Linked DNA regions of Homo sapiens: all the other regions are linked to region 1. The links are contacts of gene promoters, found by promoter capture Hi-C in blood cells and fetal thymus (Javierre and others, 2016). All regions are on one chromosome and are shown on one strand. The core of a region is centred on a gene start or on the middle of the fragment in contact, and the rest is flanking DNA. Distances in the headings are between cores, read along the strand shown. Region 1 holds the start of TMEM68 (transmembrane protein 68). Region 2 has its middle 91 kb from the start of RP1. Region 3 has its middle 130 kb from the start of RP1. Region 4 has its middle 150 kb from the start of RP1.

The links. Contacts are between HindIII fragments. The CHiCAGO score rates a contact against its expected background, and 5 or more counts as called.
Region 2: a contact is called between a fragment that was not itself captured here and the fragment with the promoter of TMEM68 in region 1, in 1 of 17 cell types (total B cells). The highest score is 6.8, in total B cells.
Region 3: a contact is called between a fragment that was not itself captured here and the fragment with the promoter of TMEM68 in region 1, in 1 of 17 cell types (total B cells). The highest score is 5.1, in total B cells.
Region 4: a fragment that was not itself captured here is called in contact with the fragment with the promoter of TMEM68 in region 1 in 3 of 17 cell types (total B cells, naive B cells and M1 macrophages); the score reaches 6.1 in total B cells.

Annotation. Positions count from the first base shown.
Region 1 is chr8:55,769,400-55,776,694 of GRCh38, forward strand. TMEM68 (transmembrane protein 68) reads right to left here and starts at 3,979. Exons shown (of 8, transcript NM_001286657.2): 1 at 3,870-3,979. TGS1 (trimethylguanosine synthase 1) reads left to right here and starts at 4,047. Exons shown (of 13, transcript NM_024831.8): 1 at 4,047-4,320. The coding sequence starts at 4,220. RefSeq lists enhancers at 2,881-3,384, 4,156-4,485 and silencers at 3,606-3,735, 3,826-4,015. The HindIII fragment of the contact is 10,724 bases long and covers 2,527-7,295 here.
Region 2 is chr8:54,703,081-54,710,375 of GRCh38, forward strand. It overlaps a transcript of RP1 not described here. Among named protein-coding and RNA genes, the nearest start is that of RP1, 91 kb to the left of the region's middle. The HindIII fragment of the contact is 2,475 bases long and covers 2,343-4,817 here.
Region 3 is chr8:54,744,059-54,751,353 of GRCh38, forward strand. It overlaps a transcript of RP1 not described here. Among named protein-coding and RNA genes, the nearest start is that of RP1, 130 kb to the left of the region's middle. The HindIII fragment of the contact is 2,203 bases long and covers 1,753-3,955 here.
Region 4 is chr8:54,761,253-54,768,547 of GRCh38, forward strand. It overlaps a transcript of RP1 not described here. Among named protein-coding and RNA genes, the nearest start is that of RP1, 150 kb to the left of the region's middle. The HindIII fragment of the contact is 1,772 bases long and covers 2,729-4,500 here.

The DNA.
Region 1 (7,295 bases), core at 2,729-5,228:
AACAGATGATGTAGGAGAGGAGATAATTGTTAGAGCTCTGTCCTTGACTAGGCCAAAGGGGACAGGATACAATGTACAAGTGGATGGCCCTGAGAAGTTTGTGCCAGATACTATTCTAAATATATCAGTAAATAAAATAGTTATCTAAGAAAACATACGAAAAACACTTACTTTCTGGCACATAGTAGGCACCTAACAAATGCTGGCTAAATATACAACTGAACTGTGTTCGTCTAAAACTTTTTTTTTTTGAGACAGAGTCTCACTCTGTCACCCAGGCTGGACTGCAGTGGCTCGATTTCAGCTCACTGCAACCTCCACCTCCCAGGCTCAAGCAGTTCTCATACCTCAGCCTCCCGTGTAGCTGGGACTACAGGCAAGCACCACTGCACCCAGCTAATTTTTGTATTTTTAGTAGAGATGGGGTTTTGCCATGTTGGCCAGGCTTGTCTGGAACTCCTGGCCTCAAGTGATCCGCCCGCCTCCACCTTCCAAAGTGCTCGGATTGCAGGCGTGAGCCACCCTGCTTGGCCTCATCTAAATCTTTAACAGAAATCTGGATCAAAACAGTATCCTAAAACCTGCTACTAGAGAACTATCAGAGGAATTTGAATAAAATGCCTTTCAGTAGATAAAATGTAGCACTTACTTTTGATAATATGACAAAGTGTCTTTAAATCTCAATGCAACCCCTTAATTGTGCAGATAACAAAAAAAGTAAACACAGAAAGCCAAGTTTGCTTGCTTAAAATTACTAAATTAATTCAGTAAAAGCCAAGAACTAAAATTAAAATCTAGTCATCTTACCTCCTGGTCTGGCTTCCAACACACTTTCTTTGATATATCTCTCTTTTTCTCTCTTGACAGAAAGAAAATATTAAGATTGCAATTTCTGTCTTCCCTATACTTCTGCCTGGCCCTTCCCCTTCCCCCTGAATTTACCTGGGGGTGTAACTGACTTCTTATCACTTTATTTTAATCCAAGAAAAATGACATGGGCCAGGGTGGCTCACGCCTGTGATTCCAACAGTTTTCGAGGCCAAGGTGGAAGGACTGCTTGAGTTCAGGAGTTTGAGACCAGCCTGGGGGCAACATACTGAGACCTTGTCTCTACCAAAAAAAGGTTCGCCAGGCATGGTGGCACGTTCCTGTAAGTTGCAGCTACTTGGAAGGCCAAGGCAGGAGGACTGCTTGAGCCCGTGGAGTGAAGACTGCAGTAAGCTATAATGATCACACCACTATACTCCAGCCTGGGCAACTGAGCAAGACCCTGTCTCGGGGGCAGGGGGGAACTCTATGTACTAGAAGATGTTTTGGGGGAAATACAATATTTTAGTTCTCAAAATTCCAGGTTATTTTCTACAGCCCCCTGCTCCTAAAAATCTAAAATAAACACAGTCTAATGCATCACATATAAAGTATCTTAATTTCCCTATCTGGAAATCACGTAACTTTTGTAAAAACAAGTAGACAAGGCCACGCGCGGTGGCTCATGCCTGTAATCCCAGCACTTTGCGAAGCAGCGGCAGGAGGATCACCTGAGGTCGGGAGTTCGAGACCAGCCTGACCAATGTGGAGAAACCCTGTTTCTACAAAAAATACAAAATTATCCAGGTGTGGTGGCGCATGCCTGTAAACCCAGCTACTCAGGAGGCTGAGGCAGAAAATCGCTTGAACCCAGGAGGCGGAAGTTGCGGTGAGCCAAGATCGCACCATTGCACTCCAGCCTAGGCAACAAAAATGAATCTCCGTCTCCAAAAAAAAAAAAAAGTTGACAAGCTCAAATATCACCATATTGACATTGATGGTGAGGATATGGACCTTACAGATGTTTAAAATCAGAGTATTTCAAAAACTAATAAATCAGAACAGAGAACTTTTTGGCTTTCAATAAAACCTTAAGAAAGTGTATCTATTTTAGGCTGGGCTCAGTGGCTCATGCCTATAATCCTAACACTTTGGGAGGCTGAGGCAGGCAAATCACTTGAACCCAAGAATTCAAGACCAGTCTGGGCAATATGGCAAAACCTTGTCTCTACAAAACACACACACACACACACACACACAAAATTAGGCAGGCATGGTGGCATGCCTGTAGCCCCAGCTACTCGGGGGGCTGAGGTAGGAGGATTGCTTGAGCCTGGGAGGTAGAGGTTGCTGTGAGCCGCGATCGCGCCACTACACTACAGCCTGGGTGACAGAGCAAGATCCTGTCTCAAAAAAAATAAATAAATAAATAAATAAAGTATATCTATTTTGAACACCCATTACCAGTACTTTTCCATTTTACTTTTAGTATATAAGTCACATTGAGAACATTCTGAAAATGCCAATTAAAAGATATAGTCACTGAAAAACAAGTTTTCCTGTTTCCTTTCTGCATATTTAATAATGGTTTAACAGAGATACAGCACTGTTTTACTGAATAGGACTTCTACTTCAAACCATGAATAAAGCTGCAATTTAGTATTTGTCAAGATAGCTGGTAAATCTAATCCTTTTAGCTTTAATACTTTTTTTATTTCAAGCTTTAAACTCGAGGTTCTGATACAAATTACCCTTCAAGACTTTTCTTTAATCCTAGAATGCCCAACTTCTAGCTAAAATCTTCCACTCTGTTTCATAATTACTGTTCTACCCTTATTATCGTAACCCAGCTACTCATCCCAATAATGCTGCACATCTATACTGGTATATCTGTAACCGTGCAGCACTCTTACCTTCTTGAACCAACAAAATCAGCCTATCTCCGACCTCAAAGTAGGGCAGCAGTAAGGAGGTGGGAATAAACATTTGAAAATGAATATTTCCACTAACTAGTAAATGTGGCCAAAATACTATTGAAAATACCATTCAAAATGCATGAATTTTAGCTCAGTTTTTATATAGTTCTGAAGAAGTACCAATACTATTTTGGCATTTCGTAGCACCAACCACGTCCGAAGCGCTCCAACTTTCAAGTCTGAGCTTGTCTCTGAAGAAGTTGCCCGTGCAGCCTCCATGAATACCACACACCAAATACTAACTGCTTTTTAACAGATCCAGCAACGCTGCTGTTTCCATTTTCTCCATCCTATTTATGCCCACATGAACTTTTTTCTTATTAGATAATTAGTAACTTGAAGGCAGAGACCTGTTTTACAGGCTGCAAACCCCAGGGACCGAGACAGCACTTAACGCCTACAAGGTCCAAACCGACGCCAACGATTAAGCGCACAAAGGAAAGGTGTAATATACATCATTTCGTTTAGTCCTCCCTGCAGCCTCATGTAGTAGTTACTATTAATCAACCCCATTTCACAGGTGATCAAAGGTAAGCTCAGAAAGGTGAAGTTGCCTGCCCAGGTCACAAGGTAGGACCAGGATTCCAAGCCTGATCGGTCTGGATACGAACGCTCTACCCACGCGGCTTTCCCCCTACACTCTCGGGATCACCACACACTTCCCCTTGGCTTTTACACCGGAGGCTCGACCTGGGTCCCGGAACCAGCGAAGCCACTGGGCAAGCCTAGAGGCCTCTACAGAGGCTAGAGACGCCTCGCCCCACCAGATGCATTAGGATGAAACGCGCCGAACCGAAGGTTTAGAGCGCCAGGGGAGAAGAGGGGCGGGGAGAGCAGGCTCTTTGACCCAGAGGAGGGAGGATCTCCACACCCGGCCACTCTGGCGCTGGGGCGCAACACTGAGGCCGGCGGGAAGCCGAGCCTGCCCGCGAAGAGACTGGGGATTCCGAGGCGGCTCCTGGGAGACCGGACGCGCGCGGCCTCCGCCGCTCCCAGTCCCGCCAGACCCGATGCCGGGCTGGAGAAGCGCGGGGGCCGACGCACCTCGGATAGGCGGGGGCAGGGGCAGGGGCAGCTCTCCTTTACCCTAGAGCGGCGACAGAAGCTCTTCGGGGGATCAGTGGCCAAGGGGGCGGACAGATTTGCACGGCGGATTCCTCCGAAGCAACCCGTGTGAAAGAAGCCAAGCGGCGGCTGCAGCCCGGGCCGCGATGGGGGTGACACCGCCCGTGGTCCCGCCCCTTCCCGTGGCCCCTCGGAGCCACTTCCGGCGGCAGCGTCCGGGCTAGTTCCCGGCGCGAGCGGCCGCGGGCCAGTTTCTATCTCCTCATCCAGGGCTTGCGGGCGAGGCCTGTTTTAAGTCTCCAGTAACCGAGCGGAGGCCCGGCAGGCGCGACCCGGGCTGCGTACGTCAGAGCTGCCTCCGAAGTGGTAAAATGTGCTGCGAGAAGTGGAGCCGCGTGGCGGAAATGTTTCTCTTCATTGAGGAGCGGGAGGATTGTAAGATACTGTGCCTTTGCTCCAGGGCATTTGTGGAGTAAGTAGAAAAGAGAATCTCTTCATGTTCTAGCACAGTCATTACCCAGAAATGTAGGTATTGCAAACGTGGTTGTAATTGATCCCTGAAAGCAGCCAGAACATCTGACCCTTGGGCACGGTGATGTTTAAGAAAAACAAAACCCTCAGACATGACGGAGTGGTCGCCCACTGCCATTATTTTTATGTGAAGGACTACATCTACTTGGTAGGCTGCTATGAAAAAATGTCGTAGGTGCTATATGTCATCTCATATTTGTAAATCGAGGGGACATTTAAAAATTGGGGGAAAGCGACATGTAAAATGAAATCTCTAGTAGATATGATGTCATAAAGTGAAAGTTTAAAGTTGAGTGACTTGCTTTGGTTAACGTCTTTTTTTAAACCTAAAAATCTACTTAAGCCCAAATGCACATAATTAAAACTTCAAACTAGTTGAGATAAAAGACTTAACCATATTTACATCAGTTTTTGTGATATCTTTATTTTGGGGAAATCTTTGAATCAGGTAAAAATTGCCCCACATGAAAAATAGCTAGTATGCAGGAATAATACCGCCAAGAGACTTGAATTCTAGGAATTGTTTCCTTTATATTAAATGCGTGAGTTAAACCACTTGAACCTTTTTTTCATCTCTATAACGGGTATATTTAATCTCACATGCTTATTTTGTTAGAGTTAAATCCTTGTGGAAGTGAATTTTATGTGATAGACTTTTAATATAGTTTAATATAGTAGGATTTAAGTTTGAAGGAATTCATTTTTCTCGTGTAATTTTGTGGAGTAATTTGAAAACGCAAAAAGAAGTTAAACTTGTTAAATTTAATGTAAAAAGTATTGTCGCCTTTTTAGTCAGGCATGCATGTAGTCATACAATCATTCAGAAAATGTTTTTTGTGCTCTTGTATATCAAGTATGCTGGTAGGCACTGAGGTACAAGACATTCTGTCCTTACATGTATTGAGTTTACTTCCTAGCAGAGAAGATCAATATTAAGATAACTGGTTACATTATTACTTGGTTGATTATAGTTATAAGTGCTATGAGAGAGAAGTGCAGGATGCTGTGAAAACAAATAACTTTCCAAGGGTCACAGAGGTTTCTTTGAGGAAGTAGCTTTTGGAAAGAGGTCTAAGGGGGATAAATTGGGGTGAGTTTCAGTGGGAGAAAGCGTTCTCTGCAGGCTGAACTCAGTAAAGGCCTTGAGGGAGCAAAAGAAAGCCTGGGAAACTGAACAAAATGGCTGGGAGGGAGGGCACGGTGGTGCACACCTGTAATCCCACCACTTTAGGAGGCCGAGGAGTGAGGATCACTTGAGCCCGGAAGTTGGAGACTAGCCTGGGCAACATAACAACACCTCATCTGTACTGAAATTTTTTTTTAAAATTAGCCAGCTGTGGTGGCACATGCTTGTAGTCCCAGCTACTCTGGAGGCTTGGGCCAGATGCTCTCTTGAGCCCAGGAGATCCAGGCTGCAGTTAGCCATTGTCGTGCCTGGATGACAGAGCAAGACTCTGTCCCGAAAAAAAAAAAGAAAAGAAAAGAAAGAAAAGAAAAAAAACTGGGAAAGAAAGAAGATAGGGTGTGCACAGTAGGCAGGGTCAAAACCCGCAGGACTTTGTAGACTATAGGAAAACCTTAAGCTGGGGAATGACATGATCAGATTTGCATATTTAAAATACTACTCAGGCGGCAGTGTGGAGGATTGTTTGGAGGAAGAGAACCACTTAAGACCATTGTTTAGGCAAGAGATTATAGTGACTTGGATTAGGATAAATGGCAGCAGAAATGGAGAAAGAAAGAAAGATGGGAGAAAACTTGCTGGGGGTGGGGACTGAATTGTATTGCTGCCTTTCACTGAGGTAGGGATCACTGGAGAATCATGAATTTTATTTTGGGTCAACGGAGAAGAGATTATGAGTTTGATTTTATACATTTTGATTTGGGGGTATCTATGAGATAACCAAGAGTAGATGGTATAAGCAGTTAGATATATTGATTTGGAGCGCTGGAGAAGTCTGGGCTAGTTTTAAAAACTTGAGCCATTTAGCCTTAGATAGTGATTGAACCCATGAATGAAGGGTGGGGGAGGGGGACCCACCTTTGAGGAATTCCAGCACTTTTTAAAGACAAGAAGAGATGGATTAACTAGGAAACAGACAAGCCTAAGTACACTGTCACCAAGTGTTTCAGTGAAGGTGTAATCAACATTGGAAAGCTGCCAAAATATCAAGCAAAATGAGGACTAAAAGTATCCACTAGAATTGACTAAATCCCTTGGATCGATTGACTGTAGCAGGAAGAACCGCAGACAAAACCCCTCAGACACCAGGTTAAAGAAGGAAGGGGTTTATTCGGCCAGGAGCATCGGCAAGACTCCTGTCTCAAGAGCCGAGCAACCCGAGCGAGCAATTCCTGTCCCTTTTAAGGGCTCACAACTCTAAGGGGGTCTGCATGAGAGGATCGTGATTGATTGAGCAAGCAAGGGGTACGTGACTGGGGGCTGCGTACACCACTAATTAGAAAGGAACCGAACTGGACAGGGGTCTTCACGGTGTCTTTTTTTTTTTTTTTTTTTTTGAGACAGAGTCTCGCTTTGTTGCCCAGGCCAGAGTGCAGTGGCGAGATCTCTGCTCACTGCAAGCTCCACCCCCTGGGTTCACGCCATTCTCCTGCCTCAGCCCACCAAGTAGCTGGGAATACAGGCGCCCGCCACAATGTCCAGCTAATTTTTTGTGTATTTAATAGAGACGGGGTTTCACTGTGTTAGCCAGGATGGTCTCTGTCTCCTGACCTCTGATCCACCCGCCTTGGCCTCCCAAAGTGCTGGGATTACAGGCGTGAGCCACTGTGCCCGGCCCAGTGCCTTTTTTATGCAAATAACCGATTAGGTCAGGGGTGGATCAGTAACTACCAGGCCCAGGGTGTGGCGCCGGGCTGTCTGCTTATGGATTTCATTTCTGCCTTTTAGTTTTT
Region 2 (7,295 bases), core at 2,330-4,829, 1.1 Mb before region 1:
AACTCCTGTTAATGTTGAGATTTTGACCTCCTATCCCCATGAATCATAGTTGTTCTTAATGGCATCTAGAATGGTGAATCTTTTCCAAAAGGTATTCAGTGTACTTTGCCCACAGCCATCAGTGAAATCACTGTCTATGGCAGCTATAGTATTAGGAAATGTATTTCTTAAATAATAAGGCTTGAAAATTGAAATTACTTCTTGATCCATAGGCTACAGAATGGATATTGTGTTAGCAGGCATGAAAATAACATTAATCTCCTTGTACGTGTCCATCAGAGCTCTTGGGTGACCAGGTACATTGTCAATGAATAGTTATATTTTAAATTGTTTTTCTTCTGAGCAGTAGGTCTCAACAGTGGGCTGAAAATACTCAGTAAACGATGCTGTAAATAGATATGCTGTCCTTCAGGCTTCATTTTTCCATTTCTAGAGCACAGGTAGAGTAGATTTAGTATAATTCCAAAGGGCCCTTGGGTTTTTGGAATGGTAAATGGGCACTGGCTTCAACTGAAAGTCACCAACTGCATTAGCCCTTAACAAGAGAGTCAACTTATCCTTTGAAGCTTTGAAGCCAGGCAATGAATTCTCCTCTCTAGCTATGAAAGTCATGTGTGGCATCTTCTTCTAATAGAAGGCTGTTTTATTTACACTGAAAATCTGTTGATAATCTCATCAATTATCTTAACTAGATCTTCTGGGTAACTTGCTACAGCTTCTCCATCAGTACTTGCTGCTTTACCTTGCACTGTTATGTTACGAAGATGGCTTCTTTCCTTAAACTTCATCAACCAACCTCTGCTAGCTTCAACCTTTTCTCCTGAAGCTTCCTCACCTCTCTCAGCCTTCATAGAATTGTAGAGAGTTAGGGCCTTGCTCTTGGGGTTAGGCTTTGGCTAAGGGAACATTGTGGTTGGTTTTGGTCTTATATCCAGGCCACTAAAACTTTCCCCATATCAGCAATAAGGCTGTTTAAGTTTCTTATTATTCATGTGTTCACTGGAGTAGCATTTCTGATCTGCTTCAAGAACTTTTCCTTTGCATTCACAACATGGCTACCTTACACAAGGGGCCTAGCTTTAGATCTGCCTCAGCTTTTGACAGATCTTCCTCGCTAAGCTCAGTCATTTCTAGCTTTTGATTTAAAGCAGGAGATATGTGACTCTTCCTTTCATTTGAACACTTAGAGGCCATTATAGGGTTATTGATTAGACTAATTTCAATATTGTTGTGTCTGAGGGAATAGAGAGGCGAGAGAGAGATAGGGGAATGACTGGTTAGTGGAGCCATTCAGAACACACACAGCATTTGTTGATTAAGTTCACTGTCTTATATGAGCATAGTTTATGTCCCCCTAAAATAATTACGATAGTTAACATCAAAGATCACTGATCACAGATCACCATAACAGTTATCATAATAATGAAAAGCTTGAAATATTGTGATAATTACCAAAATGTGGCACAGAGACATGAAGTGAACACATGCTGTTGGAAAAATAGTACTGATAGACTTGCTTGATGTAGGGTTCTCACAAACCTTCAATTTAAGAAAAATTATCTGTGAAGCAAATAAAGTGAAGCACAATTAAGTGAAGTGCAAATAAACAAGGTATGTGTGTACTTACAGTATAATAAACACTTTCTCACATTACTATTTCTCCCAAAGCAACATAATTTTAACTCATACATCTCATGTTATTTAGCTTAAGGTTGAACTTAAGGTTAATGGTTTCATAATACTCAAATGTAACTATTACATGTATACACACACACACATATGTCTTTTTTGTTGTTGAACATTTAATCTCTCTCTTTTCCCACTTCTGCATATGATACTGTAATATATACTTTGACATATGCCTTTGACCACATCATTTATTATTTTCTTAGCTTAGAAAATTAAAAATTGAACTTAAGGGTTAGAACGTGAAACTTTTAAGGCTCTGGGAACATACTGCCAAATTTATTTCTTCAGATGTCCCAATTTTTACTCCTGTGAAAGTTAAGCCAACTATAAAGTTAGGGGGAACAGTCTATAATACTATCCTCACTTCTGACATCAACCACAGAGTTTGGGGGACCCCGAGACCACTATCAAGGCTTGATAATTCACCGGAAGAACTCACAGAACCCATTGAAAATTGTTATACTCAAAGTTACAGTTTATTATAGAGAAAGGATACAGATTAAAATTGGCTAAGCAAAGAGACACATAAGGCAGAGTCTAGGAAAAGCACCAAACATGGAATGTGCACTGGTTCTCTCCCCATGGAGTCAAGGCAGAGGTACTTTCTCAGCACTGGTGTGTGACAGTATGCATGGAGTATTGCCAGCCAAGGAAGCTTCCCGAGCCTTGGTATTCAGAGTCTTTATTGGGCTTCCATCCTGTAGTGAGTCCATGTGGCTGGTCTCAGTCTCCAGCCTCTCAGGAGGTCACTTAACACTTTCTGACTCAAAGCCCCCTACCCTAAGTCACATTATTACTATCTGGCTGACCCAAGCTCTGCAGGCAAACAACAACACTCCTATCAGGCATGACACTCCAAGGGTAAAGAGATTACCACTCAGAAGCTGAGGCGAAGGTCAGACTTCTCTGGGTAAAGTTAAATTCTTAGTACCCAACTAGTTTCAGCAGTGTAGGAAAACACCCACCTCACTGACCTCAGTGTTGTTGAGTATGGTCCTTAAGGAGAAGAACTTTGACAATTTTCTAGAGGAACAGATATCCAATTTTAGCTTTTTTTTTTTTTTGTATTACTAGCATGGATTACTTTTCCTTATGTTTGTTCACCATTTGTATTTTATCTTTTGTGATTTGTGTATTTATCTATTATCAGTTTTACTGTGTTAGTGTATTTCTAATTAACTCTCAAGAGTCTTTTATATCTTCCTCTTAAATTAATGATTACATAGGATTTTCTTAAATATATCTTATTTGTATTTGATATCTTTTTACATTCATTCCTATATGCATACATTTAAATATCCATAGAGAGTATTCCATAATTCAGTTACTCTTATAGCATATTTTTATTGTGCTTTATATTAATATTAACATTATTTGTTTAAGGTGATAGTAAATTCCTTAAGAGAAATATATGTGTTTTGTATCTTTTAAAAATCTCTGTAGCATCTCATGCTGGCCTTTATACTGTCAACAAATGATAACTGAAGTAAACCAACCTCCTTTTGTTTACTTTTGCATAGCAGTGACATTGTTTACTTCTTTTGCTCGTTTTCAGCCACCAAGCCTCCTGGTCACTATGGCTTCAGTAAGAGAATTGCCTCTATAGTTGTCTCCCTCTAGCAAAACACGAGCCCGTTACTGACTGCCTTTCTGTTCTGTTTGTTGCTCTGAAGGGGGTGTTCCTCAACAGTGCTGTGGTTCTGCTTGCTACAAGCCTGTGTCAGGCCCTGTGTCTCCAGCCTGATGGAAGCTGCACTGGAGTGGGAAGCCAGTCTGAAAAATCCTACTGGAAAGTGCATAAAATCAGCTCTGGGATTTGCATGTTTGAAAGTGTGAAAAATGCACAAATGTATCTAAGAATCAAGGATGGCCGATGCGATGGAACAGTAAGCATCTGCTCTTGTTTCTCTCAGCAAATGTTTAAGACATTTGCCAGTTGTAGACATGAGAATAGCACTTTCTGAGTGGGTTTTGGAAATTGAATGTTACATGTGGTGGTCTCCCTTGACTGGTATTTTTAATAAGTGAGGAGAGCAGCCACATGCCTGGTATGATAAGAGAGGAATCCTGACCCTCTAGATAGGGCCTCTGAAATGTAATGTATGTACAAATCACCTGGGAATTGTGTTAGGAAGTAGATTCTGATTGAGGAAGGCTGGCGTGGGACCTGAGTGTTTACGTTTCTAACAAGCTCTCAGCTGTGGCTGCTGATGCTGGTCCATGAATGATGCTTTGAGAACCAAGGTTCTAGAAAGGCCAGCTCAACAGTGTCTCCTTACTGCTCCTTTTGGTGCCTGAATTTCCACCACTGGAAACCCTGTACTTGACTAGGAAGCTATTTTAAATTCTAAATATTAGGGGTTTTTCTTTTTGTATTTTTATTTTTAGAGACAGAGTCTCACTCTGTCACCCAGGCTGGAGTGCAGTCATGCAATCTCGGCTCACAGCAGCTCAGGTGATCCTCCTGCCTCAGTCTCCTGAGTAGCTGTGACTACAGGCGCATGCCACCATGCCCTGCTGATTTTTGTACTTTTTGTAGAGAGAGGGTCTCGCCATGTTGCCCAGGCTGGTCTCCAATGTCTAGGCTCAAGAGATCCACTGCCTTGGCCTCCCAAAGTGCTGGAATTATAGGCCTAAGACACTGTGCCCAGACAGGGGTTTTTCTTTAACACCTTGAGCCTTAGGAGGGGATGTGGAAGACAACTAACATAACAGTTTATATATATTCATAATTCTTCTGTGGGGTGAGGAACAAGTAAGATTGCACATTTAACCTCCCTGTTAATGCTCTCCATCTATTATTGTTTAAAATAGTTTAGTTTAAATTAGATCTTCTGAATAAATTCTGAGGTCCGCCCTCTCCCTTCTTACCAGTCATGATGTCTAGCTATAAGGAAGAACTTGCATGAGCTTCTTGGGGTATGAGGAGGGAGGACTTTGACCTTTCATGGTTCCCAGGGTCCCTGTCGGTGCTGCAGACTGGTGAGTTTGTGTCAGGTGAGCTGCACTGATGCTCACAATGCAAAGGCGAAGCACATGCACATACACACGTGTAGTTAATATCCCTGATCTACCCACAAGTGCATAATGAAGTAGATTTTATCACCATTTCACAGAAGAGGAAGCCAAGCTTAAGAGACAAACTCATGCTTGTAGTCTTTACACTGGTAAGTGGACTAATTGGGATAAAAATGAGTAACATTATTACTATGACTAGACTAGTTAGAAGTACAATTTCATCTAATGTTCAGTTACCCCCTAGGACAGAGTGTCCTGGGAGGAAATCAGTAAGTAGCCTTCCTATCCTCAACATTCACAAGTTATACAAGCCTTTCCCTTCTGGGGCTCGCAGGAGTGTTCAGAACCATGAGATAATGTGTCACTATGTAATACATGCTTTTGTGTTTGTGTTTGGAAGTTGCTGGGCAGAGTTTCTAGAGGCACAGGTAAGTGTCACTCCAAAGTGGGAAATGGGTCAACATTGGAAATGTTTATCTTCCCCGGGTAGTAACCAAAGGGATAGCTCAGTGGTTGCTCACTTTCTATTTAGCTGCCTCATACTCTAGCTGAATGGTGATTTCTGGTTTTTTTTTTTTTTCTTTTTTGAGACATAGTCTCACTCTGTTGCCCAGGCTAGAGTGCAGTGGCGCAATCTCGGCTCACTGCAAGCTCCGCCTCCTGGGTTCATGCCATTCTCCTGCCTCAATCTCCAGAGTAGGGACTACAGGTGCCTGCCACCATGCCCAGCTAAATTTTTGTGTTTGTATTTTTAGTAGAGACGGTGTTTCACCGTGTTAGCCAGGATGGTCTCGATCTTCTGACCTCGTGATCCACCTGCCTCAACCTCCCAAAGTGCTGGGATTACAGGCGTGAGCCACTGAGCCCAGCTGAATGGTGATTTCTTGGTTCTTCACTTCCAGCCTGTATGCCTCTCTCTGACTCTTCCATTTTTTTTTTTTTTCTCAGTGTGCTGGTTATCTTTTTCTTCCCAGTGAGTAAACTTCCTCTGTAAGTTTTTAGCAGAATCTTTTTGTCCTACACTTAATATTCATGCTTTTTCTTCCTATTTGTGCTATGGGTGACTCAGCTCTATCTGATGGGGCTGAGGGACTGGAAGAAGTCCTTGGCATTCAATTGAAAGAATCTGGTGATCACAGGAAGTTGGATGGAGTTGTACAGATTAAAACACAGAAGTATTATCCTGCCACAAAGAAACTATTGGCATGCTCATTCTTCAGATGCTGAAGCTGAGTGTGAGCCTGGTTAAGTATCTCACCCAGAGTCCCCAGGTAGCCTTAGAGCTGAGGCTTTGTCCAGGTTTGCCCACTTCCTAAGGCCCCATTGTGGAGGACTGAGAATAACAGGATGGAGAAACTGGTTTTCCCCCATGAGGAGACCAGAGTCAGGATACATGAGGCAGAGGTGATTCTAAACACAAAACCAAAGTTTTCTTTAGAAATTTCCCAAGAACCAGCCTTGTTGACAGCATGTCAGGTGAGTGAGTGGCTCTGAAATGGGTGGGAGAACACTCTGTGCCATGCCAGCCTACGTTGTGCTGCTTTGCATCAATGTTGGAAGCCCCTTCTGTTTTCCCTTCCTGAAGGGCTTCACAGGATGAAATGCCAGGTTCAGGACTTCTGTGTATGTTGGAAGGCAATCATGCTGAGCTGAGCTGAGCTGAGGCAGGCAATCATGCACTGGAGTTTCAAACCCAAGTATCACTTCTTCTTAGAGATATTTCACAATTTGAAAAAAGCCAGAGGCATTTATTCTGTTTGCTTTGGGGAAGAGATAGCCAAAATGGAGAACCCAGTGAAATTGATTGATAAAGGTGAAAGAGCATAAATGAGTTGGTTACACAGAATTTGATATACAGAACATTAAAATAAGAAATATTGCACATAAGGCAGAGATTCTCTAGGCCTTTTGGAGATAAGCACACCATAGCTAGGTTACATGAGCCTTGTCCAGAGGGTTAAGGTCACTCCTCTGAGGCCTCTGAAGGCAACACATGTGTGTAAAGTAGTAGCTAAATGCAAAAAACACTGGTAAGGGGAGCTGTGTAAAGGGGCAAACCAGAAATAACAGGTCCATATATGCTGGGGTGTTACTCAAAATACTGTATTTAACAAGCAGTTTGGTACACTGAAACTCCTGGAGTGCAACCTTCAGGACAAGCAAGGAGCAAGGATCCTTGAAGGTCCAAGATGTGGATGAGGTATTGGCTGGCCATGCCATCAGGGCCCCATGTTTTTGTGCTGGGATCCAGGCCCTGACGCCTAACCCTGGCAGTGGGCTGTGACCTCTAGGGGTTCTCCCATTCTAGGGCAACCAGAACATGAGGGAGACACAAGGGGGCTTAGACGATGGCTATTCATCATCCAATATGAAAATATTGATGCAGGATATTTTCTTGACCCCTTTGCAGGTCTTGCAACAGGGGTGCCCATTTTACTTAGCCTGCCCCGCTCAACCCTTCATGGGAGGGAGCACGCGAGCAAACAAGTGCAGGCACTGGAGCAAGTGAGTGCAAAAACTGGCCAGCTGCTTTAGCACCAGCAGGAGCAAACTCTGTGCAGGCCCCATGGCAGCATCCAGATGGGGGT
Region 3 (7,295 bases), core at 1,604-4,103, 1.0 Mb before region 1:
GCATTTCCAAAACTAAATTCACCATGGGGTCATATTTTTCAGGTAAAATCTATTAACATTCTATGAAAGGAATATTGTGCATTACTGTAGGGGTTTGAGGCATTTGGGGTTTGATTTAGGAAAAAGATATGACCATGGTGCAGAGGCAGTAGCACACATATTATATTAGGTGATGTTGTGACAAGATTGCATGTGGAGGAAGTTCCCTCCAGCAGTAATCTGTCCAGAAGCCACAGCGCAGGCCTATACTCAAAAGGGGAAGAGGGCAAGGGAGCTCCCTAGGGAGCCTAGGTGATGCCTCTGAGTGCACAGTGGGGACATGAGTCAGAGAGCCCCGAAGGGAAGGTTATGAAATATTTCATCCTAAATATGTAAAATAATTTGTTCCCCAATGAAAGGCAAAGTGTCTATTTGCAAAGCTGAAATAGTTTCCTTGTGTTCGAAGGATGATTACATAGACTGGAATTTGTCAGACACAAGCCGTTTGACCTTGTTTAGGTAGAGTCACTTGATAAATACATAGACCTACAAATATTTTATTACCATCTCTTGCAGCCCTATTCAAGCATATAGAAAAAATTCTGTATAGGTGACTACCATCTTCTGTCTGATAATTAAACTCCAGTCATTATTTCTTCCCTCAGTATTTCACAAATACACTGGAAGTTTATTGCTATACGGTACAAAATTTTATTCCTCCACGTGCATTTGCTCTGTGGCAAAATTCAGTAATCTTTATGTCTTTTATATAGTCTTCTTAATCAGTATTTCCCTTTTCTTATATTGCATGGACCATGCTAGTCAAATTAACTTTATATTTTAGGACAGGTTAGGGCCAAGGCAATTTTTAAATACATAGATTTCAGTGTGTCAGGGTGGGAGAGAGCACATCAAGTCTCTCCTTGGACTTTGGTACTAAAATAAACAATAGCACAGATTTGTACTCATATTCAGAAAACAATTGTACTCGTATTCAAAGTGTTTTATCAAGTATTACTAGAAGACTTAATAAGAGTTGGAAGAGTTCTGTTGGTCGTTTGAGCATGCCAACATGACTAAGATGCAGTTCTTGTCTTCAAAGAACACAATCTACCATTAACCTGACTATAAACCAGATTGTGCTTAGTTATCCATTAAGTTGTCATTGTAATTGTCCCAGTGAAAATGGCACATGCTGTCTCTACATCTGTCTTCCAAAAGATTTATGGAGAGAATTAAATTGATTTCTCCCTTTTCTCAGGTTCTGAGAGGAAAGGTTGGGTAACCTGACCTAGATGTTATATTCTCATTACTGAATTCTAACATGTTAATTCAGACATTGTAAGTACCACCATATGTCTGTTCCAGTCAACTATTTTTAGGATATGTATTTAACGACTTGGTTGAAATTTTTAAAAGTAATCCAGGAATTTTAAGTTTCTAAGAAACAAAAATGAGTTTTTATGGTAATGTTCTCTTGTGAAACAACTAATATTTGCTGTTGTAAATCAGCAGGGGGAGCTCAGCAAATGAATTTTAGTTTTTACTGAAGGCATTCCTAAAATTGTTCCTATTCATTTAAGAAACTAAAACAAAATGCTGAATATTTTATGTGATAAAGGCACTGCTGTTTCTTTTTCCTTTTTTTTTTTTTCCAAGCACTGTGTTTGTTTGTTTTCAAGGAAAATGAATGCATGTTTCAGTGAAAAAATGGTTTTGGAAATTAACTCTTTTTCTATTTCTCATCTACCCCAACATAAAGTTTGGCTTTGAAGCTTAATATCAGTGCACTTTTTCTCATCCATATCGACTCTTTCATAGTACTCACATTTGGCAGTTCTGCATCAGAGCTAAAGCAAAAGTCAAGGCTTTGGGTCTTTTTAGTATTGATAGAAAAATACTAGACGATGCTTCAGTCTGAAAGCCAAAAGAAAATACTATTTCCAAAAAAGAAAATGATTGTTTTCACAATGACCAAAGGCTGCCTTTTGTGGACTTGGAAAATCTGAAAGTCTGTCATTATTAGGACATATGTCATTATTAGGATCATTCTCCCCATTAATGATCAGCCATTTATAGCCAATAGCTATTGTTCATCTTGTGATAAACAATGCAAGCACTTATGGAATGCTTTTTTTTGGGGGAAGCCGTTGTTTCTAAACAAGTGTTTGTTGAAATCATTCCTAGTGTCCCAGATTAAAATGGGTGAAAACCTAGTTTTTGACATAGCATTTTGAGCAGGGAACACCTGCCCATTTCATGATACTCTGGTACTTTGGGGCTTTTGATCTAGTGGTGGGTCATGTGATGTCATTCAGAGTCTTAAACTTTTATTCCTTGATCATACTTTAGAGGCCTTTGTGAAGGTCTGACTTGCTATTTCAGCCATATTAATGCACACTAACCAACTGTGCTGTCTAGCGTCCAAAACACTGTTGTAGAATATTAATCCAGGTCATCATACTGATTTCAGGCAATGGGTAGCTTCTACCCAAAACAAGATGGCTATAACTGAACATAGACAGATAGTAATTAACTTTGAATATTAAAAAAAGAAAGATAAGCATACATGTTAGCAAATGCTGTTAAATAAAACTAATAATTGTTTTTAAATCTTAGGTTTTCTTTTTTTTATTCTCTGGAATTGACTTTGGCTCTTTCAAATTGAGGTAATAAACTTTAGAGTTGAAGTCAAAAGACTTGAAAGATGTTTAATTTCTAAAAAGTTAAAAAATCACTTTTTCTCTAGGTTTTTCTTACTATAAAATAGGGCTCAACGGTACTTGGTATCTCACAAGTTGTGAATATCAAGTGAAAAAAATAAATGAAACATAATCAGACCTTTTTGATTCCCTCATCCAACCTGCTTCTCCTTTAGTCTTGTTCGTCTGAGAAGATGGTGTCAGTGTCTACCTAGTTATATAAGCCAGAACCCTATGAATTTTCCTAGATTGTTTTATTTCCCTTCCCTCCAAAATCCAATCCCTCAGGAATCTCCTGCTGACTCTATTGCTGAAACATACCTCAATTTTGTCTATTTTTCCTCCATCTTATTACCATCACTTCACTCCAAGTTGCATTTTTTTCTCTTCTCTCTGCTGTAAAGATCTCCTATGATAGGCTTCCAGCTTCTTTTTCACCCCCCTCAGTATCCAGATTTCAAAGAGAAGCCAGAGTGATCTCTTATTAACATCAGTCAGATCATGTCCCCTCATGTAATCTGTCCCCTGCCCACCTCTTTCTCGTCCCCTTCTCATGCTGTGGAAGCCACACTGGTCTTCTCCTGCTTTAGAGGTCCTTTGCTATACAATCTAAAGGGAGCCCACATTTGCTCTTGATCACATCAGCATGGTTTATTTTCTTTATAACACATCCCTTATCTGATATTTTATATTTGTTCATAGTCCGACTTCCACTAGAAAGTGAGTGACTTGAGAACAGGAACTTTGTATTATTCAGTGTTATAATCCCAACTCCTACAGTATTGCCTGTCATGTAGTAGATGTTAAACATTTGTGGAATGAATGAATAAATAAAACACATTTTGTTTATTTAACAAATATTTATAATATGTGAAGTACGGCTGGGTGCATTGGCTCATGCCTGTAATCCCAGCACTTTGGGAGCCCAAGGCCAGAGGATCTCTTGAGCCCAGGAGTTCAACACCAGCCTGGGCAACATGGGAAGACCCCTGTCTCTACAGAAATGCAAAAATTAGCTGGGTGTGCTGCAGTGAGCTGAGATTGTACCACTGCACTCCAGCCTGGGTGACAGAGGGAGACCCTGTTTCATATATATAGCCTGGAGAGTCTTGGAGGTTTGACCCATTCACACAGAATTAGTAGCGAGATAAGGCCAATGCCCCTTCTCTTGGCCCATGGCCTAATGCTCTCTCCAATGTCTGGGCTGCCTCTGCAGCACATGTTTGCTATACATTCTGGATAAATAGACTCAAATAGAATAGGAATTCTCTTGAAGCTTTTTGATTCTTCTAAGTCTTTGAATTGAAGTGGGTCATAGGTTTTGGTGAATTTGTTATTATTTTAACCTACTGCTGGTTAATATGATATGGTAACCTACTTGATATGAGCCCCAGGCAATCTTGAGATTAGCAAAATTAGGTAAGAAATGCCTTATTTTTTTGAAGTTTTAAAGTATCTCATAAATATTTCTAGTTCCTTTTCATTTCCAGTTACTTCTTCACTTCAGGGTTCTAGAAAGAACCACATAAAGGAAATAGCAAGTTCTGAAATGCGGTAAGAAAAATAGTTTGTTTTTGAAGATTTTCTAGTTCAGTGAACAGCAGGAAGCACCAGCTTCTTTTCACAAAATCTCCAGGCAAATGTTTAATCTCAAAAGACTCCAGTAGTTTATAGAAACATTCTCAAAGTTGTGCCAGCTTATTTGAACCAAAGATAAATTCATGTATTTGATAGTCCCTCAGTCAGTTGTAAATACCATAGTTGGTCCCCCTTGTACAGTCCTTGATAACAAATAGGGTATTATCACAAGGCACAGGATGAGAAATAAGGATATTTAGAGTCAAGCTTTGACTTTGTGTCTGATTTGCAAGAACACTTAAAATGTTCCGTATGAACACATTTAAACCTTATTATATTTTCATATTTCTGGCTATACAAAGAAAATACTAATGACTGACATGAGTGCCCCATCCACCATCCCCAGTATCAGATCTTATAGAGTACTATAAATACGTTGTGTCCAACAAACGTGTTGGTGACTATTTGCCTTTATTTTTTCAGAAAAAGCTTTGTGTATATGGAATCTGTAATGAGAGTAGAAGTATTTTTTTTTGTTTTATAGAACAAAGGTTTATGATATTTCAGGGTAGGATTTCTAAAAGGATTTTTTTCTAAACCTTTCTCATCCTAATATATTCTTTGTGTTCTATCCAGTGTTTATCTTACATCCAGTGTTCAGTAGACAAATGGCCACATGGGTAGCTCTCAGAAAGTATTTGTTGACTCTGGTTCTATATCATTTCTCCTCCAAGAAAAGATAAGATTATTTTATTTATTTTGTTTAGGATTAAATACAATTTGTGAAAAGTATTTTATAAAAAAGGATCGAGACCATCCTGGCTAACATGGTGAAACCCTGTCTCTACTAAAAAATACAAAAAATTAGCCAGGCGTGGTGATGGGCACCTGTAGTCCCAGCTACTTGGGAGGCTGAGGCAGGAGAATGGTGTGAACATGGGAGGCGGAGTTTGCAGTGAGTCGAGATCACGCCACTGCACTCCAGCCTGGGCAACAGAGCAAGACTCCATCTCAAAAAAAAAACAAAACAAAAAACAAGTAGAATACAAATATAGATGGTGGCAATTGTTGTTGGTTATTAATTGCATTTAATCAGGATGTGGAGTGAGGCTATGGCAGAGGGCAGTTGGCTCACTCTGCCCTCACAACCCCAAGTCTTCTGGCCATAGTGATGACCCTCCTTCTGACCCACTGGACCTGATCCTTGCTCCATTGATATCTAGGTTGACATTAAAGGCAGGCACTAAGGACAGTTAGAGAAGGGGCTCAGGGAGGACATGAAAGAAAAGATAAAGCCTTCAAGAGGAGTTGGGACAGTGCCGGTCCCTATAGTTTAGAGAGGAATGGCCTCCTTTTTCTTAAAATTTCCTGCTTGAGGTACAAAGAAGCAGAATAGGAGCCATTTTAGGGAAAGCAGACAAGGATTACACAGTGATCTAGGGACCCAGGAGACTAGAAGTGCTGGAGAGCTTTCTTGGGAAGATGGGATGAGTGGGAGACCTGGCTTAGAGGACAGCTTTGGGATTCCAAAGCTTTGGAGGTTTCTTTTTTTTTTTTTGAAGTTAGAGGTTTTGCCTTTTGTTTATGAACTCCTTGACTGATGGGCTAGAGAATTCATGGAGGGGCCCAGGAGAGAGGAAGCAGGAGAAGCTACTTCAGATTGGCTAAGGGTAGGAGAGCCAAAGGAGACTGTTAGTTGTCTTCCCAGATGGTCGTGGTCAGCTCTCCCAAGTACAGTAGGAGTCAGGGAATTGGAATAGAATTTCTCATTCTGGTAATAGAAAACTGAACGTTTGGCTGAAGTTTTCCTTGGGCATTCTCTAGGAGGATGTTAAAGAGTGAGGAACCACAATCCCAAATAATTTTTAAGAATTCTGATCTCCAATCTCTGAGATTAATTTTGATACTATTATTACTAAAAACAATAAACATGTGTTGAGCACTCAGGGTATACCTGATCACTTTTAATGTTTATACCACAGAAAGGCAGATATTATCATAATCCTAATTGAGAACATTGAGGTTTTGAGAACTAGGCAATTCCCATATTACATAGCTAGCATGTGGATCTGGAAAGAAGTGATCTTACTTCTAGGCACAAAAACCGCCCTCTTACTGTTAACTTGGAAAATTTAGATGTTCTGAAATCAAGCTCTTTTACAATATTCCTAAGTATCACTGAGAGGAGAAGCCAGCTGGACTTCCTAGGTCAAGTGGGGACTTGGAGAACTTTTCTGTCTTACAAGAGGATTGTAAAATGCCCTAATCAGCACTCTGTAGCTAGGATTGTAAAACGCACCAATCAGTGCTCTGTAGCTAGCAAGGGGATTGTAAAATGCACCAATTAGTGCTCTGTAGCTAGCAAGGGGATTGTAAAATGCACCAATTAGTGCTCTATAAAAACGCACCAATCAGTGCTCTGTACCTAACAAGAGGATTGTAAAATGCACCAATCAGTGCCCTGCACAACTCACCAATCAGTAAAACGCACCAATCAGTGGTCTGTAAAACGCACCAATCAGCAGGACTCTGAAAGCCAATTGCAGGGAGGATTGAAAAAGGGCATTCTGATAGGACAGAAATGGAGCATGGGAGGGGAAAAATAAGGGAATAAAAGCTGGCCACGCCAGCCAGCGGTGGCAACCTGCTCGGGTACCCTTCCACTCTGTGGGTGCTTTGTTCTTTAGCTCTTCACAATAAATCTTGCTGCTGCTCACTCTTTGGGTCCGTGCCATCTTCAAGAGCTGTAACACTCACTGTGAAGGTCTGCGGCTCCATTCTTGAAGTCAGTGAGACCACTAACCCACCGGAAGGAACCAACTCCGGACACATCGCCACCCATTCTTGAGAAAGTTCTGCTTTGGAAAATAACTTCCTATGGCTAATCATTTATAGTTTACAAACTGTTTTCCAAAAGGTGTTTTGATCTCATTTTATTACATAAGGCACTTATCAACTTGGTGAGATATGATGGCAGTTTTGCAAATGAGGGCCTGAAGATGAGAGGTCCTCTTGTGGAACTTTTATAAAAATGCT
Region 4 (7,295 bases), core at 2,365-4,864, 1.0 Mb before region 1:
TTGAGACGGAGTCTTGCTCTGTCACACAGGCTGGAGTGCAGTGACTCAATCTCAGCTCACTGCAACCTTCACCTCCTGGGTTGAAGCAATTCTCCTGCCTCAGCCTCCCAAGTAGCTGGGATTACAGGCATGTACCACCATGCCTGGCTAATTTTTGTATTTTTAGTTGAGACAGGGTTTCACCATGTTGGCCAGGCTGGTCTCCAACCCCTGACTTCAGGCAATCCGCTCGCCTTAACCTCCCAAACTGCTGGATTACAGGCATGAGCCACCGCACCTGGCCCCTGCACTACCTTACTTCTTGTTTGTGCTGTGCCACCATGGCCTCCTTTGGAAGGAAGGAGCATAAGTGATAGCTTAATTATTATAATTTCAATGGGTTGTATCTGAAAGAATTTTAGTTTCAAAATATATTGAACAATCCCAAATAATGTAACAGATATAAAATATTAAATGCTAATATTTAATACCCTGATCATAGTAGGTCCTAAATAAATGGTACCGAGTGCTCATTCATGTAATACCCTGATGAAGAAAGTAAGTTGCAAAAATAATTGCTTTCTATTATGTAGCTATACAGAGATGAGACAGTTCCTACTTCCTTAATTCTTAAAGGAGCAGAAGAGTATGGCACCAGGAATAGAACTTGGGGCACAGCAGGTTCCTTTCTACTGCAGAAAAAGGCCATTCTGAAGCCACTTATAGTTACTTCTGTCTCCCAGAGCCTTTTCTGTGCATATGAGGTCAAGGTCAGTGTCCATGGAGCCTGGAAGGCTGTTCTGAAGAGAAAGGAGAGCCATGGGTGCACGCAGGAGCTGGAGTGGACAGTCCTGGCGGGGGAGCTGGGTAGGGTATGATGCTGGGCATGTTCACTGTGGCTAGTTAGTTCTGGGGTACAGGCATCCAAAATGCTCAGGTGCACATCACAGAAGGGAAAAGGAAAGAAAATCTCGGTCATGCTCCTTGGAGTTTCCTCAGAGAACAAGAATTTACAGCACAGCTGAATTAGGGCAGAGAAAAAGACCACCGAGTGCTTGTCCCTTTTTGTGGGCTCGGGGGAAATGCTTAGGTGAGACACAAAGCAGAGCCGCGTGAGGAGACTGCTTGTATGCATCACAGAGGCTGCCTGCGAGTGTGCGCATCCTCCTTTCCTTTTTCCCTCTTCAACTGAACACCCACGTCCTTATGGCTTTATTTTATTTCTATGCCTGAAGGTATTATTTTTCTGTCTTTTGTACATTTAATATAGATAGGGGTATACATCACTGAATTTCTACCATTTACACTGGAGGTTTGGCTATTTGAGGTTTGCAGCAAACAAAATTTTATTTGAATAAGGCAGACATTCAACTGACTTTATGAATTAATGCAAATATTTTCATTTAGTATTTATATTAGCTTCCTGTGGCTGCCGTAACAAATTGCCACAGATTTGATTGCATTGAACAACTGAAATATATCCTTTTGCAGCTCCTGGAGGCCAGTGATCCACGATCCAGGTGTCATCGGGGCCTCACTGTCTCGGAAGGCCTGGGAAACAGTCCTTCCTCGCCCTTCCCACTTCTGCTGCATGCTCACTGTCCTTGGGTTTCCTTGGCTTGCAGCTGCATCACTCCAGCCTCTGCTCCGTTGTCACATGGCTGTCTTCCTTTTGTGTGTCTGTGTCTCTGTATTTCTTATCTTTTTGTAAGGACACTGTCGTCATTGGACTAGACCCATCCTACTCCAGTATGGCCTCATCTTTACTAATTACATACCCTATTTCCAAACAAGGTCATGTTCTGAGGTTCTAGGTGGCCATGAATTTTGGGGGAACACTATTTAACCCAGTATACTTTTTGAGTGGATTCTGTAATGTATTGTTTAGCATTAAATTAGGGAATCTCCAGATTTTTCTGTGTTACCAAACTTGAACTATTGTGTATGCATGTGTATATGTGAGTCTTGACTTTAATGTGAAATTATTAAAAATAAGTTAGCATCTATCTTTTAATAGAAACAATGTCATTCACAATATATATTTGATAACCTACTTGACCTAGGAGGGCCTGGAGACAAGGAGTGCCAAAAGCTTCTCAATGTTGCCTTTCATAACTCCTGGTTTGGGAAATGACATTGATAGGAGCTTGCAGAAGCAAGTTATTTGAAATAAAGGCCCTACCTAGGGGAATTCTAAATAGAAGGAGAATTTTTAAATGCAGAAATCAATCAGTTAAATGCAAATAACTACAAATAATGACCAACATGGAGAAACCATGTCTCTACTAAAAATACAAAATTAGCCGGGCATGGTGGTGCATGCCTGTAATCCCAGCTACTCGGGAGGCTGAGGCAGGAGAATTGCTTGAACCCAGGAGGCGGAGGTAGTGGTGAGCCGATAGTGTGCCATTGAACTCCAGCCTGGGCAACAAGAACAAAAACTCCATCTCAAAAACAAACAAACAAACAAAACGAATCTAACTTGACTTGTCAAAGCAAGGCAGCATGACCAGCTTTGTCCTCTCAAAACCAAATTGTAGTCAGATAGGTGGAGTGACCCTGAGGCACATTCACCTGAGGAATAAGGACATAATGCTCCACAGCGTTCCTTAGAGTTGACATTGCAGTTAACACCTTTAAAGTGTTCCCGTCTCATTTCTATTCAGGATTCATGACTTTAAAATTTTTTTTTTTGAGAAAGGTTGAGATTATCTCCTTTGTGCAAAGTATAAGAAAAGAAGACTTTAAAAGCTTTCCACTATGGCTAGAATAGACTATCAGCAAATCCTGAATACCTCTGGTAGGTGGAATGCCACCTCCACTCCAGACTCACGCCCTTTTCACGGTCCTCAGCACCTTCTTATTAATTGTTGAAAAAAAGAGTCTGTTGTTCCACCGAAACAATTGTGGGCCCCCTGCAGGCAGGTGAGGCAGGCCTTCGGGCAAGGCAAACTAAAGGCCTTCTTTTCATCCTTGAGATCACACTCTGGGGGAACCTTTGCAGCCAAAAGCTGGCCTTGGCCACACAGCAGGCCTACAGCTCAGCCAGGGCCTGGCAGACACTTTCTTCTCTGCTCCTCACTGGCCTTCACTGTGTTCTCAGCTGGTGCTGTTGGATCTGAGTTTACCTAACTCATGGCCATTCCGTGGTGCCTGGAGTCCTGTAGGCTTTCATGGGTATATTTACTGGTGAGTTGACAAAAGATGCGTCACCTCTGCCAGGAGATATTTCCTGAAGCTACAGGTTGGGAAACTCATTTTCCTGTATACCTTTCACAAGGCGTGTGACATTAACTCAGCACTTACTACATTAAGTTATATGTGTGTGTTTATGTGTCTGTCCTACTCCTCTAGTTCAGTACACTTTTCCCCAAGGTTGGGCTGATGTCTTATATTTTTACTTTCAGCTCCTATCGTTTCTGAAATAGAAGGGAACTAGGTTAAATTTACATGTGTAATAAATTCAACCAAAATGCATGCATTAATCAAGACACTATAAGCCCAAAGGGAAATCATATTAAAAGACAGATTTGGAATTAGAACACAATTTAAAAGGTTTAATTGTATCTTAACCTCACTATGACACATATAAACAAAATTGTCACTTAATACTCATTTTTAAGTGTTAATGACAACAAGAAGCCAAAGAGTAATTCTTAGAATTAGCATGAGTTAAAAAGAAAAAAAAAAAAAAGACGTGTCCTACTGGTATAGATTTTTAAGCAAAATGCAGTTTACTTGTCTCAGGATCTCACTCTTGAAAAACTGAAGTGGCTAGTTGGCCAACCACACCGCAAGGGGGCTCCGCCTTGACGGCCTGGCAGAGAGCGGCGTTTCTGCTGCTCTATCACTGCAGCCTCACACACCAGCAGGCCGCATCTCCATGCATGAGATTCTTCCGTGGAAGCAAGGCTGATAATCACCCCTGTACCATCCCATCATTATTATTCACAAAGCATTGTCCTTGCTTAATTGCCTTGTGGCAACTCTAGCGGTTATTCCATGAAAATCAAACATGAGGCGCATGCTCTTAGGAGGTTGTAATCAAGACCTTCAGTGTCCACAGGACAAATACACAGAACATAGTAGGTACTCAGAAAGTGTGTGCTAAATTAGTGAATTAGTTAGTAAATCATGAGCTGAGCCTTATACAGAACAGGGCTGAGTATATCATTTGTGGAGAGGGTCAGGAAAAGAAGCAGGGGCAGCCCTGTTTGAACAGCATCCTTCTTCTGTGTAAGTATAGTTGGCAAGAGAACTTTTACACCTAGGCCAGCTCTGCCTGAAGGTGTTAGTGTGTGGTGAATTAAAAACATATTATCCCCCTACCTTGGCCATTTACCTTTCTAGGCTTTTCTTCCAATTCTCCTGAGTAGAGTACGTTTCGCTTCTGTCTCTAGACATTCTCCAGGGATATTGTTACTCTTTTCCCTCATTTGTTTTAGCTCATTATATTCTTTCTTCTGCTTACTGAAATTCTTATCCCTCAAGGCCCAGGATAAAATGTTATCCATGCCATGAAGCTTTCTCTGCTTGCCCAGACAGAAGTGTGTTCATCCTTACCCTCTTTAAATTCCTCCAGCACTTGACTTAGACCTTTATGCAATTCTTGCCAGACAATGCACTGCCATTGTTTGTGAACGTATTTGTCTCAGGTACCAGATGATATGCTTCTTAAGGGTAGTGTCTCATAAATTTCTCTTTATTTTCCAGTATGGCTTCTTGTACCAAGTATGGATTTAGCAAATATTTATAGATAGGAATGGGGAAAGGAAGGAAGGGAAGGAAGGAGGGAGGGGGGTAAGGACGATGGATGGAAAACACAGTGGAATCTCAAGCTGGAAGAAACCTTAGAGGTCACCTAATCTTTGCATGAGTTCCCTCTGTAACATACTCAGATGTCTCATTACGAATAATTTATGCATTTATTTATTTTCAAAATAAGTCAGCCTGTCTACAAATGGTTTTATTTTCCCTTTCTGGGAAAAGAGGGGGAGATGATGAATGATATAGATAAAAAAAGATGTTGAAATTTTGATAAAGTACAGAAATGTAAAATACAATTTTTATAGGGAGAAGGGAATAATAAAAATTATCATGAGGCAGTGAGCAATCATTTAACTTTACTGATTTTTTTTTTCCTGAAAGAGGCCACTATTAATCATTTCTTGCTATTCTGAGCATGTATTTGTGCTGCTGCAGATTTCTGTGCTCTTCTTTGTCAGTTTACGCCATTCCTTGGTGCGAAAGTGACAAGTAGTGATGGTGGGAAACTGACAGAATGAGGTGCAGGGATGAGTCTTGTTCATTTTTTGGGGATGGGGGTGGAGACATAGAATCTTCAAATATTTCTTCTGCCATTTTCAATGTGAAAGTGTGCCAAATATAAAATATATCTCAGACTAAATAAAATCTGTACTACTCCTTACCTCGTTATACATCTTCCCCCAGCAAAACACCCTATATGTTTTAAGGCGGGAGCACCCCAACACGTTCCACAATTGTCTACTTTAATCTTAAAAGACTAACAGAATTTTTGCCCCTGTCTTTGTGTTTCCTAGCTAGGCCAGTGAAAGGGAGCTCCCTGGTGACCTAGGGGTTTAGGCATTCTTTAGCTGGTGGCTGCAGAGAATGGATTGTGTTCTTGGTCAAGCAACCTTCTCGTGCTTGCTTTTTATTCCATTCCTTTAATATCATCACTGCACTTCTCAAGCCACACTGCTCCAATTCTCCCATCTGTTCATTGGCTTTGGGGGAATTTTCTTGTCTTAATGTGAAAACTTGCTTCACTATCCAAGGCCTACTGTTTTATGGCACATCTGAGAAAAGTAGGATGGTTGTTTGTTGACTGGCAGTCACCCCAAATATATTTTCTGTAACACAACTGTGTACAAGGCACTGTGTTTGGCAGTCAGGAAATGCAGTAGTAACTATTTTACCATAATACATTTATGTATGTTTAATTCTGTATCCTTTGTATAGGTAAGGTTATTATCCATAATTTATAAATGAGGAAACTGAGGGTTACAAAGATTAAGGACATGGGGCAAGGTTGCACAAGTAGTAGATGTTGAAGCCAGGTTTTGAAACAAGGCAATCTGACTCTACTTGAAATTTAAAGTCTGTATTCTTTTTTTTTTTTTTTTGAGATGGAGTCTTGCTCTGTCACCCAGGCTGGAGTTCAGTGGAGCGATCTCAGCCTACTGCAACCTCTGCCTCCGAGGTTTAAGTGATTCTCCTGCCTCAGCCTCCTGAGTAGCTGTGATTACAGGTGTGTGCCAACATGCCTGGACAATTTTTGGATTTTTAGTAGAGATGGGGTTTCACCATGTTGGCCAGGCTGGTCTTGAACTCCTGACCTCAGGTGATCCATCTGCCTTGGCCTCCCAAAGTGCTGGGATTACAGGTGTGAGCCACCTTGCTGGGCCTAAAGTCTGTATTTTTAAACATGAAGCTGACTGTCTTTATTCTGGCATGTAAAGTAAACTCTTTACATACATAACAATGTAGCTGGAAAGATGGGATACATAAACCAAAACATAACTAATAAAGTAAGATTGCATAATTAGGGGCTAACAAAATGTGCAAAATATATTGTATGTGTGTTATTAGGCTCCAGAGGAGGAAAGAACACTGTGAGCTAAAGTGGTCAGAAGGAAATGGGATTTCTCATAGCTTTGGAAAAATGGAGAGATGAGCAATCCTGACAGCTGGGTAGGACTGCGAGCTCACAGTTCGCCTTTATACCCCACACCTTCCCATTATCTGCTGATTGCAAGGCTAGTGTGGTGACGTCAGTCCTACAGCTCAGACTCTTAAGTTCCTTGACATTGTCAGATCCTTGAGTAACCCACACACAACCCCTGCCGCTACCCCATCTTGTCCAGCAGCCTCCTGTGCGTCAGCCACGTGGAATCTCATTGGACTCTGTACCTTTGCCAGTGCTGTTGTCTCTCTCTACGGTGCCCATCCTGACCTACTTATTGTCCAACCTTCAGCTCAAGTATCACCTCTTTGTTTAATTTTTTTGTTCTTCATTCCTTTGCACTTCCCCATTCCTGCAATTGAGTTGGTCAGTCTCTTTTTCTGCTCCTATAACATCTGTATTTAAGTGTCTCACCACACTTTGTTACATTTATATCTTTACATATCTGTTTCCTTCTGTTTTACACTGGAAGCTCCTCAGGTCACGTTTCTTCTCTCTTTTGTTTTTCTTGTAGTCCCAGCACTTAGGAAAATACCTGCCCACACAGGGCACTTTCTAAGTATGTATTGAATGGATAGATGGAAGGATGGAAGGAATGAGAGTATGTGTA